3 separate regions of the Homo sapiens genome follow, and all the other regions are linked to region 3. Evidence: promoter capture Hi-C in 16 types of primary human blood cells and fetal thymus (Javierre and others, 2016). All regions are on one chromosome and are shown on one strand. Each heading gives the region's core, a stretch centred on a gene start or on the middle of the fragment in contact. The rest is flanking DNA. Distances are from core to core; before and after follow the strand shown.

Evidence for each region. The method cuts DNA at HindIII sites, captures the fragments that hold promoters and counts their contacts. A CHiCAGO score of 5 or more calls a contact.
Region 1: a fragment that was not itself captured here is called in contact with the fragment with the promoter of ZWINT in region 3 in 1 of 17 cell types (fetal thymus); the score reaches 5.9 in fetal thymus.
Region 2: a contact is called between a fragment that was not itself captured here and the fragment with the promoter of ZWINT in region 3, in 1 of 17 cell types (non-activated CD4 T cells). The highest score is 7.2, in non-activated CD4 T cells.

Annotation. Positions count from the first base shown.
Region 1 is chr10:58,261,216-58,264,885 of GRCh38, reverse strand. All of the region lies in intron 1 of IPMK (inositol polyphosphate multikinase), which reads left to right. Among named protein-coding and RNA genes, the nearest start is that of IPMK, 4.8 kb to the left of the region's middle. The HindIII fragment of the contact is 3,933 bases long and covers 1-3,461 here.
Region 2 is chr10:58,244,325-58,247,890 of GRCh38, reverse strand. All of the region lies in intron 1 of IPMK (inositol polyphosphate multikinase), which reads left to right. Among named protein-coding and RNA genes, the nearest start is that of IPMK, 22 kb to the left of the region's middle. The HindIII fragment of the contact is 7,112 bases long and covers 1-3,566 here.
Region 3 is chr10:56,359,503-56,363,547 of GRCh38, reverse strand. It overlaps ZWINT (ZW10 interacting kinetochore protein), which reads left to right and starts at 2,289. Exons shown (of 9, transcript NM_007057.4): 1 at 2,289-2,352; 2 at 3,165-3,255; 3 at 3,407-3,530; 4 at 3,695-3,861; 5 at 4,016-4,045. The coding sequence starts at 2,312. It overlaps LOC124902546 (a long non-coding RNA gene), which reads right to left and starts at 2,089. Exons shown (of 2, transcript XR_007062372.1): 1 at 1,692-2,089. RefSeq lists a silencer at 2,022-2,231 and enhancers at 2,322-2,491, 1,840-2,579, 3,319-4,045, 3,205-4,045. The HindIII fragment of the contact is 11,189 bases long and covers 912-4,045 here.

The DNA.
Region 1 (3,670 bases), core at 246-2,745, 1.9 Mb before region 3:
CACATTAGCGCGGTTCTGTTTTTTTATACAAATAAATCTATCAGCAACTTTTCTCATTCTGTATTATATCATGTATTATACCTATATTTTTGCACTTACGGTATACTTTATTCTTTCTAAAAATTGTGTTCTACAATGTGGATGTATCACAATTTATTTAACTATTTCTGTAATCATAGATTTTTAGACTTTTCACCATTTGTTTGCTGTGATAAGTAATGTACTTATTAAACATTCTTGTATATAATAGCATACCTTGCACGTTGTGTACCTATCTCTGTAGGAAGTTTTCGCAAAAAAAAGATCAATATAAATTCCCAAAACTCACCAAAGTTAGCATAAAATTCTTTTAATATGTATCATTAAGTTCTTTAAAAAGTCCTTAAAGTTTTAAACAAATGATGGAAATCTGATATTTCTTGATCTGATGTAGGATGTAGAAATGGGGTAGTCTATAGGGAAAACAAGGATTTAAACTGATAATTGTTGTGGGGGAGAAAGACCTACAATTATCTTGGCTTAGTAGTCTCTTTTTATTAGATATCCTCTGAAACTAATTAACCTAAAATAATTTCAAGCCTACAGAAAAGTTGCAAGAACAATAGAAAAGTAACATTTTGCAAAATTTGTTTTATTATCTCTCAATGCAAATAATTTTTCTTAACTATTTGCAAGTAGGTTGCATACATTATGCCACTTTACATGTTAATACTAAAGTGTGTCTTCCTTAAGAACAAGGATATTCTCTTCTGTAGCCACAGCACATTGATCAACTATGGGAAATTTAACAGGGATATAATACTTTAATCTATAGTCCATAGTCTCACTTTGTCAACTGTTCCAATACTGTAATGTCTTTTATCACATTTGTTTTTCTCAGTACAGGATCTGGTCCAGAATCATTTATTGCAATTAGTTGTTATGTCTTTTAGTGTCCTTTCATTTGTAACATATCCTCAGCCTTTCCCTGTCCTTTATGACATTGTCATTTTGAAGAGTACAGGCCAGTTATTTTATGAAATGTTCTTTAATTTGGGTTTCTGATAGTTCCTTACGATGGGATTCAGATGATACTTTTCCAGCTGGAACATTGTGTAAGTGGAGGCCAACAATAGCTGCCCTTTGGTAGTGGATTATTTCTGGTTGTCTGATTCAAGTGTAGTCTGGCTTCTTCAGTATATCGTTTTGTTTGTTTGTTTTTTGAGACAGGCTCTTGCTGTGTCACCTAGGCTGGAGTGCAGTGGCGTGATGTAGTTCACTGCAGCCTCAAACTTCAGGGCTCAAGCAATCCTCCTGCCTCAGCCTCCTGAGTAGCCGGGAGTATAGGTGCACACCACTAGGCCAGGCTAATTTTTTTTTTTTTTAACGGAGTCTTGCTCTGTTGCCCAGGCTGGAGAACAGTGGCGCGGTCTTGACTCACTGCAACCTCCGCCTCCCAGGTTCAAGTGATTCTCGTGCCTCAGCCTCTTAAGTAGCTAGGATTACAGGAGTGCACCACCATGCCTGGCTAATTTTTGTATTTTTAGTAGAGACGGGGTTTTGCCATGTTGGCCAGGCTGGTCTTGAGCTCCTGGCCTCAGGTGATCCACCCACCTCTGCCTGCCAAAGTGCTGGGATTACAGGCATGAACCACTGCTGGGCCAGGCTAATTTTAAAATTTTTTGTAGAGATGGGATCTGGCTTTGTTGCCCAGGCTGGTCTTGAACTACTGGCTTCAAGTGATCCTTCTGCTTCAGCCTCCCAAAGTGCTAGGATTACAGGAATGAGTCACCATGCCTGGCTTCAGTATATAGTTAATGTTTTCTGTTCTACATTTAATAAGCTATATGTGAGGAGACACTTTACAGTCATGCAGCTATCTGGATTCTCATCAACTTCATCCCTAGATTTGGCATCTGTTGATTCTTGCCTGAAGCTGTGTTTATTCTGATAGTTACAAAATTGTGATTTTTTCCCCCCATTCTTTCACTCCCTCTGCTTTAACAGCTAGCATTCCAAGAAATAGCTCTTCCTTTACCCTTAAGTATTTATGTCCTTATTTATAATCAGTTTGCATCATGGATTCCTATTTGATAACATGTATCATTACCCATTATGGAACTTATTTATTGGACTTTAATCACATCTCAATGTTTTTAAAAAAGGAACTTATTTATTTTGTTGCTCAAATGGTCCCAAATTTGACCATTGAGAGCACTTCCTTTCTGTCATAACAGATTTTTTAGAATTATCTCATAACTTTCTTCCCCAGCCCTAGAGTCAACCATTTCTTCAAGGAGCCCTGGTTTCTTTTTAGTGGAAAATGGTATTTAGAAACCAAGATCTGTGTTACTAGGTATTGTCATAACTGTTGGAGTATCATTTCTTCCAGGACTTTTCAATGGACATGATTTTTAAAGTATGTATAAATATTTTAGAAATTATAATTTCATATTTCAAATTTCATTTAAACCCGAGTTCTTCCTTTCCCTTGATTCTAAATTTGTATTTCCCTTCTTCTGTAGTAAGAACCCTGGCTCCCAGTGATATTAATATGTTTATTCTTTTGCTTAATCTTACAATTTTCAGAATTTCTACACCCATACTACTTCAGAAAACAAGCCTAGAATAAAGAATTCAGGATGAGATTTTTTTATTTATTTATTATACTTTAAGTTCTGGGGTACATGTGCACAACGTGCAGGTTTGTTACATATGTATACATGTGCAGTGTTGGTTTGCTGCACTCGTTAACTAGTCATTTACATTAGGTATTTCTCCTAATGCTATCCCTCCCCCATCCCCCCAACCCCACGACAGGCCCCGGTGTGTGATGTTCCCTGCCCTGTGTCCAAGTGTTCTCGTTGTTCAGTTCCCACCTATGAGTGAGAACATGCGGTGTTTGGTTTTCTGTCCTTGCGATAGTTTGTTCAGAATGATGGTTTCCAGTTTCATCCATGTCGCTACAAAGGACATCAACTCATGAATTCAGGATGAGATTTTCTTATACTGAGGGTATAAACTGTGTTCAAAAATTACTTGGGGCTGGGCACGGTGGCTCATGCCTGTAATCCCAGCACTTTGGGAGGCCAAGGCCAGGAGGTTGAGACCAGCCTGGCCAACATGGCAAAACCCTGTCTCTACAAAAAATGCAAAAATTAGCCGGATGTGTTGGTGGCGCCTATAGTCCCAGCTACTCAGGAGGCTGAGGCAGGAGAATCACATGAACCTGGGAGCGGAGGTTGCAGTGAGCCGAGACTGTGCCACTGCACTCCAGCCTGGGTGACAGAGCAAGACTGTCTAAAAAAAAAAAAACAAACAAAAGTTAGTTGGATTAGGTTTTTTGTTTTTGGTTGTTATTTCTTTTTCTCCCTTTTCGCAGTAGTAGTATTCATTTGAAATACAGTTGGGTTCATTTGTTTCTGTTTAAATTCATCCCTGCTTCCTCAAATTTTGTTTGTTTGATTATATATTTGAAAGCTTATAACATTAACATGCTTCCAAAAAACAAAACTTTACAGAAAAGTATAATAAAAAATTTCACTCCCTTATCACTCCACCCCATCCACTCCTCAGCATCTCTTGTAGGTAATCAATTTCATTGTTTTCTGATTTACCCTTTTTGAGTTTCTTTTTACAGAATTAAATAGATCTATGGAAGTTTTATTTCCCTTTCTTTCTGATACAAAAT
Region 2 (3,566 bases), core at 511-3,010, 1.9 Mb before region 3:
CCCATTACTCCTTTTAATGTGAGAGTTTATTCTATGTATATCAAAAGCCTTGCATTTCTAATTCTTTTTTATTTATTTATTTATTGTTATACTTTAAGTTTTAGGGTACATGTGCACAATGTGCAGGTTAGTTACATATGTATACATGTGCCATGCTGTTGTGCTGCACTCACTAACTCGCCATCTAGCATTAGGTATATCTCCCAATGCTATCCCTCACCCCTCCTCCCACCCCACAACAGTCCCCAGAGTGTGATGTTCCCCTTCCTGTGTCCATGTGTTCTCATTGTTCAGTTCCCACCTATGAGTAAGAATATGTGGTGTTTGGTTTTTTGTTCTTGTGATAGTTTACTGAGAATGATGATTTCCAATTTCATCCATGTCCCTACAAAGGACATGAACTCATCATTTTTTATGGCTGCATAGTATTCCATGGTGTATATGTGCCACATTTTCTTAATCCAGTCTATCATTGTTGGACATTTGGGTTGGTTCCAAGTCTTTGCTATTGTGAATAATGCCGCGATAAACATACGTGTGCATGTGTCTTTATAGCAGCATGATTTATAATCCTTTGGGTATATACCCAGTAATGGGATGGCTGGGTCAAATGGTATTTCTAGTTCTAGATCCCTGAGGAATCGCCACACTGACTTCCACAATGGTTGAACTAGTTTACAGTCCCAGCAACAGTGTAAAAGTGTTCCTATTTCTCCACATCCTCTCCAGTACCTGTTGTTTCCTGACTTTTTAATGATTGCCATTCTAACTGGTGTGAAATGGTCTCTCATTGTGGTTTTGATTTGCATTTCTCTGATGGCCAGTGATGGTGAGCATTTTTTCATGTGTCTTTTGGCTGCATAAATGTCTTCTTTTGAGAAGTGTCTGTTCATGTCCTTTGCCTACTTTTTGATGGGGTTGTTTGTTTTTTTCTTGTAAATTTGTTTGAGTTCATTGTGGATTCTGGATATTAGCCCTTTGTCAGATGAGTAGGTTGCGAAAATTTTCTCCCATTTTGTAGGTTGCTTGTTCACTCTGATGGTAGTGTCTTTTGCTGTGCAGAAGCTCTTTATTTTAATTAGATCCCATTTGTCAATTTTGGCTTTTGTTGCCATTGCTTTTAGTGTTTTAGACATGAAGTCCTTGCCCATGCCTGTGTCCTGAATGGTAATGCCTAGGTTTTCTTCTAGGGTTTTTATGGTTTTAGGTCTAGCGTTTAAGTCTTTAATCCATCTTGAATTGATTTTTGTATAAGGTGTAAAGAAGGGATCCAGTTTCAGCTTTCTACATATGGCTAGCCAGTTTTCCCAGCACCATTTATTCAATAGGGAATCCTTTCCCCATTGCTTGTTTTTATCAGGTTTGTCAAAGATCGGATAGTTGTAGATATGCGGCGTTATTTCTGAGGGCTCTTTTCTGTTCCATTGATCTATATCTGTGTTTTGGTACCAGTACCATGCTGTTTTGGTTACTGTAGCCTTGTAGTATAGTTTGAAGTCAGGTAGTGTGATGCCTCTAGCTTTGTTCTTTTGGCTTAGGATTGACTTGGCGATGCGGACTCTTTTTTGGTTCCATATGAACTTTAAAGTAGCTTTTTCCAATTCTGTGAAGAAAGTCATTGGTAGCTTGATGAGGATGGCATTGAATCTGTAAATTACCTTGGGCAGTATGGCCATTTTCACGATATTGATTCTTCCTACCCATGAGCATGCAGTGTTCTTCCATTTGTTTGTATCCTCTTTTATTTCCTTGAGCAGTGGTTTGTAGTTCTCCTTGAAGAGGTCCTTCACATCCCTTGTAAGTTGGATTCCTAGGTATTTTATTCTCTTTGAAGCAATTGTGAATGGGAGTTCACTCATGATTTGGCTCTCTGTTTGTCTGTTGTTGGTGTATAAGAATGCTTGTGATTTTTGTACGTTGATTTTGTATCCTGAGACTTTGCTGAAGTTGCTTATCAGCTTACGGAGATTTGGGCTGAGACAGTGGGGTTTTCTAAATATACAATCATGTCGTCTGCAAACAGGGACAATTTGACTTCCTCTTTTCCTAACTGAATACCCTTTATTTCCTTCTCCTGCCTCATTGCCCTGGCCAGAACTTTCAACACTATGTTGAATAGGAGTGGTGAGAGAGGGCATCCCTGTCTTGTGCCAGTTTTCAAAGGGAATGCTTCCAGTTTTTGCCCATTCAGTATGATATTGGCTGTGGGTTTGTCATAGATAACTCTTATTATTTTGAGATACGTCTCTCTGGGACTTTTTCATCTTTTTTTTTTTTTTGAGACAGAGTCTTCCTCTGTCACCCAGGCTGGAGTGCAGTGGCATGACCTCAGCTCACTGTAGCATCCGCCTCCTGTGTTCAAGCGATTGTCCTACCCCAGCCTCCCGAGTAGTTGGGATTACAGGCATGTGGTACCACCCCTGGCTAATTTTTGTGCTTTCAGTAGAGACGGGGTTCCACTATGATGGCCAGGATGGTTTTGAACTCCTGACCTCGTGATCCGGCTGTCTTGGCCTCCCAGAGTACTGGGATTATAGGCATGAGCCATTATTTTCTAGCCTACTTTTTCATCTTTTAAAACTCATGTCCACTGAACAACTCTTTTCTCCCTTCTCCTGGCCCCTGGCAGCTATCATTCTATTTTCTGTTTTCTAAGAATTTAACTGCTTTAAATATCTCCTATAAGTGTAATCATGTAGTATTTATCTTTTTGTTACACTGGCTTATTTCACTTAGCATAATGTCTTTAAGTTTTATCCATGCTTTAGCATAAGACATAATTTTCCTTTTTGTATTTTTTAATTTTTTTATTTTAATTTGTTTATTTTATTATTTTTTTTTTTTTAGTATTTATTGATCATTCTTGGGTGTTTCTCAGAGAGGGGGATGTGGCAGGGTCATAGGATAATAGTGGAGAGAAGGTCAGCAGATAAACATGAGAACAAAGGTCTCTGGTTTTCCTAGGCAGAGGTCCCTGCGGCCTTTGGCCCTGTTTGTGTCCCTGGGTACTTGAGATTAGGGAGTGGTGATGACTCTTAATGAGCATGCTGTCTTCAAGCATCTGTTTAACCAAGCACATCGTGCACCGCCCTTAATCCATTTAACCCTGAGTTGACACAGCACATGTTTCAGAGAGCAGGGGGTTGGGGGTAAGGTTATAGATTAACAGCATCCCAAGGCAGAAGAATTTTTCTTAGTACAGAACAAAATGGAGTCTCCTATGTCTACTTCTTTCTACACAGACACAGTAACAATCTGATCTCTCTTTCTTTTCCCCACATTTCCCCCTTTTCTTTTTTTTCGACAAAACCACCATCGTCATCATGGCCTGTTCTTGATGGTCGCTGTCTCTTCGGAGCTGTTGGGTACACTTCCCAGACGGGACGGCCTGGCAGAGGCGCTCCTCACTTCCCAGACGGGGCGGCGGCCGGGCAGAGGTGCTCCTCACCTCCCAGACGGGGTGGCTGGGCGGAGGCGCTCCCCACCTCCCAGACGAGGAGCGGCCGGGCAGAGGCACCCCCCACTTCCCAGAGGGGGCGGCCGGGCAGAGGCGCTCCTCACTTCCC
Region 3 (4,045 bases), core at 1,040-3,539:
TTCTGCAATGTGTAACATACTATATTAATACCATCTAATTCCATCTATCACATTGTAGTGTTCACCTCTACAAGTTTGATTTAGGTCTTTATTACAAGCTTTGTGTCTTTGATTAACTTTTTTAACAGCTTTTATGACAGCAGTAAAGTGTAAATTTAGCGGTTTTCTGTATAGAATTGTACAACCTTCACCATAACCGAAGTGTAGAACATTTTATTTATCCCTTTAAAAGAAACACTATATCCATTTGCAGTCCCTCCCCATACTCTCTCAACCTCTCATTCCCACCAATCCCCAGCCCTGGACAAGCACTATATAAATTTACTTTCTGTTGCTATAGATTTGTCAAATCTAGACATTTCACATAAATGAAATAATATATTATGTGGTCTTTTGTAATTAGCTTCTTTCACTTAGTATATTTTCAAGGTTCATATTTTAGCATGTAGTAACCATTATTTAGCATGTAATAAAGTTCTCTTTACTACTGATTAATACTTCATTGAATGAAAGTATGCATTTTCACTCACCAGCTAATGGGCCTTTGGGTTGTTTTTACCTTTCAGCTTTTGTGAATAATGCTGCTATAGAGGTTTGTGTACTTTTGTGTCCCCATGTTTTTATTTGTCTTGGATATATAACTAGGAATGAAATTGTGACTCATATGGTAACCCTACGTTCAAAGCCTATGCACCAGTTTACATTTCCATCAACATGAGAATTCCACTTTCTTTACATCCTTAGCACCACTTACCTTTTTCATTATAGTTCTGATATCTTTTTGAAGATATGGGATATAGTTACAATAACTGTTTTAATGTCCTTGCCTGTTGATTCTAACATTACTTCAGTTCTGATCAGCAATTGATTTTTCTCCTCATTATGTGTTTTTTTTTTTCTTTTTGCAAGCTTGGTAATTTTTCTTTGTATGACATATGTAAATTGCACCTTTGGTGAACATTTTTCTATTTCTATAAATACTGCTGAAGTTTGGTCTTGTCATCTGTCATGGTTTGTTAAGTTTGATCCATTTGGGTCTTACTTTTAAGAGTTAGATGGCACTACAGCACTGATCAGCTAGGACTAATTACTGCCTACTAAATAATTAGTAAACAACTATCAAATCAAGACTTTTTTGTGTGTACTCTGTCCAGTGTCCTACGGACTATGAAGTTTTCCAGCCTGGTTAGTGGAAATAGAGACTATTTCTGACCCTCTGTAATGTCCATATATATATATTTATATATATATATATATGTATTTTTTTTTTTTTGTGAGACGGAGTCTCGCACTGTCACCAGGGCTGTAGTGCTGTGGCGCAATTTCGGCTAACTGCAACCTCAGCCTCCCTGGTTCAAGCAATTCTCCTGCCTCAGCCTCCCGAATAGCTGGGATTACAAGCGCCCACCACCACGCCCAACTAATTTTTTTTGTACTTTTAGTAGAGACGGGGGTTTCACCATGTTGGCCAGGCTGGTCTCAAACTCCTGACCTCGTAATTCACCTGCCTCAGACTCACAAAGTGCTGGGATTACAGACGTGAGCCACCGCGACCGGCCATGTCCTGGTATCTTTAAAAATCTTTTAGCTAGTTTCTTGAGACACATACTGCTCAGTACTCAGCTGAATGAATACCAAGTTCTCTCTCAGCAGTTATCTTTCTCCTGTACTCTGCAAAGAACATTACCTACCTTGGTCTCCCCAGAATATCTGTTCTATTTTGCCAACGCAGGCAATCGGCTGGGCTCTGCTTGAGTTCACTCTCCTGCATCGCATCTATAAAATACTAATATCTTTGAAAGCAGCTCGCTTTTTGAGCGCAGATCATTTGCTTCCTGTATCTCCCGGATCACTATTCTTTACTGATTCCCAGCGTCTTAGAAACAGCCCCACTGTTTTTCGGGGTTTTGTTTTTTTTTTTCTACAGCAGTAGTGAATATTTTAAATAAAGTGTCAATGCTGTAAGTTTCCCTTAAAACGCAAACTCAAGGAAATGCTTTCCCTTTTTCGAGTAGAGAAAGAACTTCCACAGGCGCGCGGTCGAGCTCAAGCCCACTTATAGTCTCTGGCACCGCGTAAGGACTAGCGCGCAGGCGCAGAGCCCGTGCGCGCCTAGCCATAACCGCGCTTGCGCCAAGCAGCGAGGCCCGCCAACGAGCGAATCCGCGCCTGCCAATTAGAGCGCACAATGGTCCTTGATGCCCGCCCACTAACCTCTGCAGCCAATCGCCTGCCCCGGCGCGAAGTCGACTGTGACTTCAAAGTAATCTTAGGGATTGTGGGAAGGCAGCTGAACTCGGCGCCTGGAAAGATGGAGGCAGCGGAGACAGAGGCGGAAGCTGCAGCCCTAGAGTAAGTGTTTGCGGCTAAGTGGCAGCTGGGGCCGGGCCTGGGAGGACCTTGTGGGCCCCTATGTGTAATGATTGGTGCCCTCGACCCTGTACAGCTGTTGAGGTTCGACCCTGCCGTGAAGTGATCCTCACCGCAGTCCCGTCTTAGGTTCCTGAGGTGTCTGTTGCCTGCTCCAGGAGTACAGCCTTTGGGGGACCGTTCGCCGCTCCCCACATCCACATAATCCACAGGATGTGCTCTAGGAGACGGTTTCACTTCTGTCTTCTTGTCCCAACACGACACATTCCCAGTCACTTCTCATCCCCATCCCTGCCCCTTCGTAGATTGCTCCAGTCCCTAATAATGAAAAACCCTAGAGTAGACCGAGGCATCCAGCCCTCTGCCCTGAGTCCTTTCTCAGCTATTCCAAGACTCTGCCCCAAGGCTGGTGCTCAGCGCCAGGAGGGATCCCAAGGCCCAGCATTCTTCCCCTTCCTTGCATATCTCCCTGGCTTCCTTCACATCTTGACTCAAATGATTTCTCTTCAGTGAGACACTCCCTATTTAAAATTTCAGCTCTTTTCTCAAACTCCTTATCCACTAGCCCTGCTGATTTTCCTTTTGGCACGTATTACCACCGTGTGCCCTCCATGCACGCCATTCCTGGTTGCAGGCTGTGGACCCTTCAGGCCCTTGTGTAAACTCTGGTCAAGGCAAGACTCTCAATACTATATATACTGATATACACATCCACATTTGTTTGTGTACACACACGAACTGTAGAACTAGCACCACAAGAAACTGCAATTTCCTGTGTTTCCTTGCCCCTCCAGGGTCCTGGCTGAGGTGGCAGGCATCTTGGAACCTGTAGGCCTGCAGGAGGAGGCAGAACTGCCAGCCAAGATCCTGGTTGAGTTTGTGGTGGTATGTACAAGATGAGAGCGAGCCTTTCAGAAGCCAGGGTCTGGTCCTGGCTCCTCTTACTGAGATACAGGGCAGCACTGGCAGAGAGCAGACTTAAGGAAACCTGTAAGGAGGTAAGGATGTTCCCTGTCTCTGCCCTCCCTCTGAGCAGGACTCTCAGAAGAAAGACAAGCTGCTCTGCAGCCAGCTTCAGGTAGCGGATTTCCTGCAGAACATCCTGGCTCAGGAGGACACTGCTAAGGGTCTCGACCCCTTGGCTTCTGAAGACACGAGCCGTGAGTAGGCAGGGGATTGTAGTAGCAGCTGACCTGAGTGGGGAAGGAAGGAGGATTTCAGTTAGGTCTCCCATTTGGCTGATGGGAAGGAGGCCCAGTGTTGCAGGGAGGCAGGCTAGCAGGCCACCCTCACTCATGTACTCATTCCTGGTGGCTCATCTCAGGACAGAAGGCAATTGCAGCTAAGGAACAATGGAAAGAGCTGAAGGCCACCTACAGGGAGCACGTAGAGGCCATCAAAATTGGCCTCACCAAGGCCCTGACTCAGATGGAGGAAGCCCAGAGGAAACGGACACAACTCCGGGAAGCCTTTGAGCAGCTCCAGGCCAAGGTACACCCAGGGGTCTTGAGTACAGGGAGGGAAGGGCAGTTAGAAAGGAAGAGGGAAAGAGTGAGCAAGCTGAGTTGTGCCAGCTTGCAATCTCCCAAAATTCTAGCCAGAAAAAATAGACTTCTCTTGGTCTTTCTCCCTTGCTTATCTGTAGAAACAAATGGCCATGGAGAAACGCAGAGCA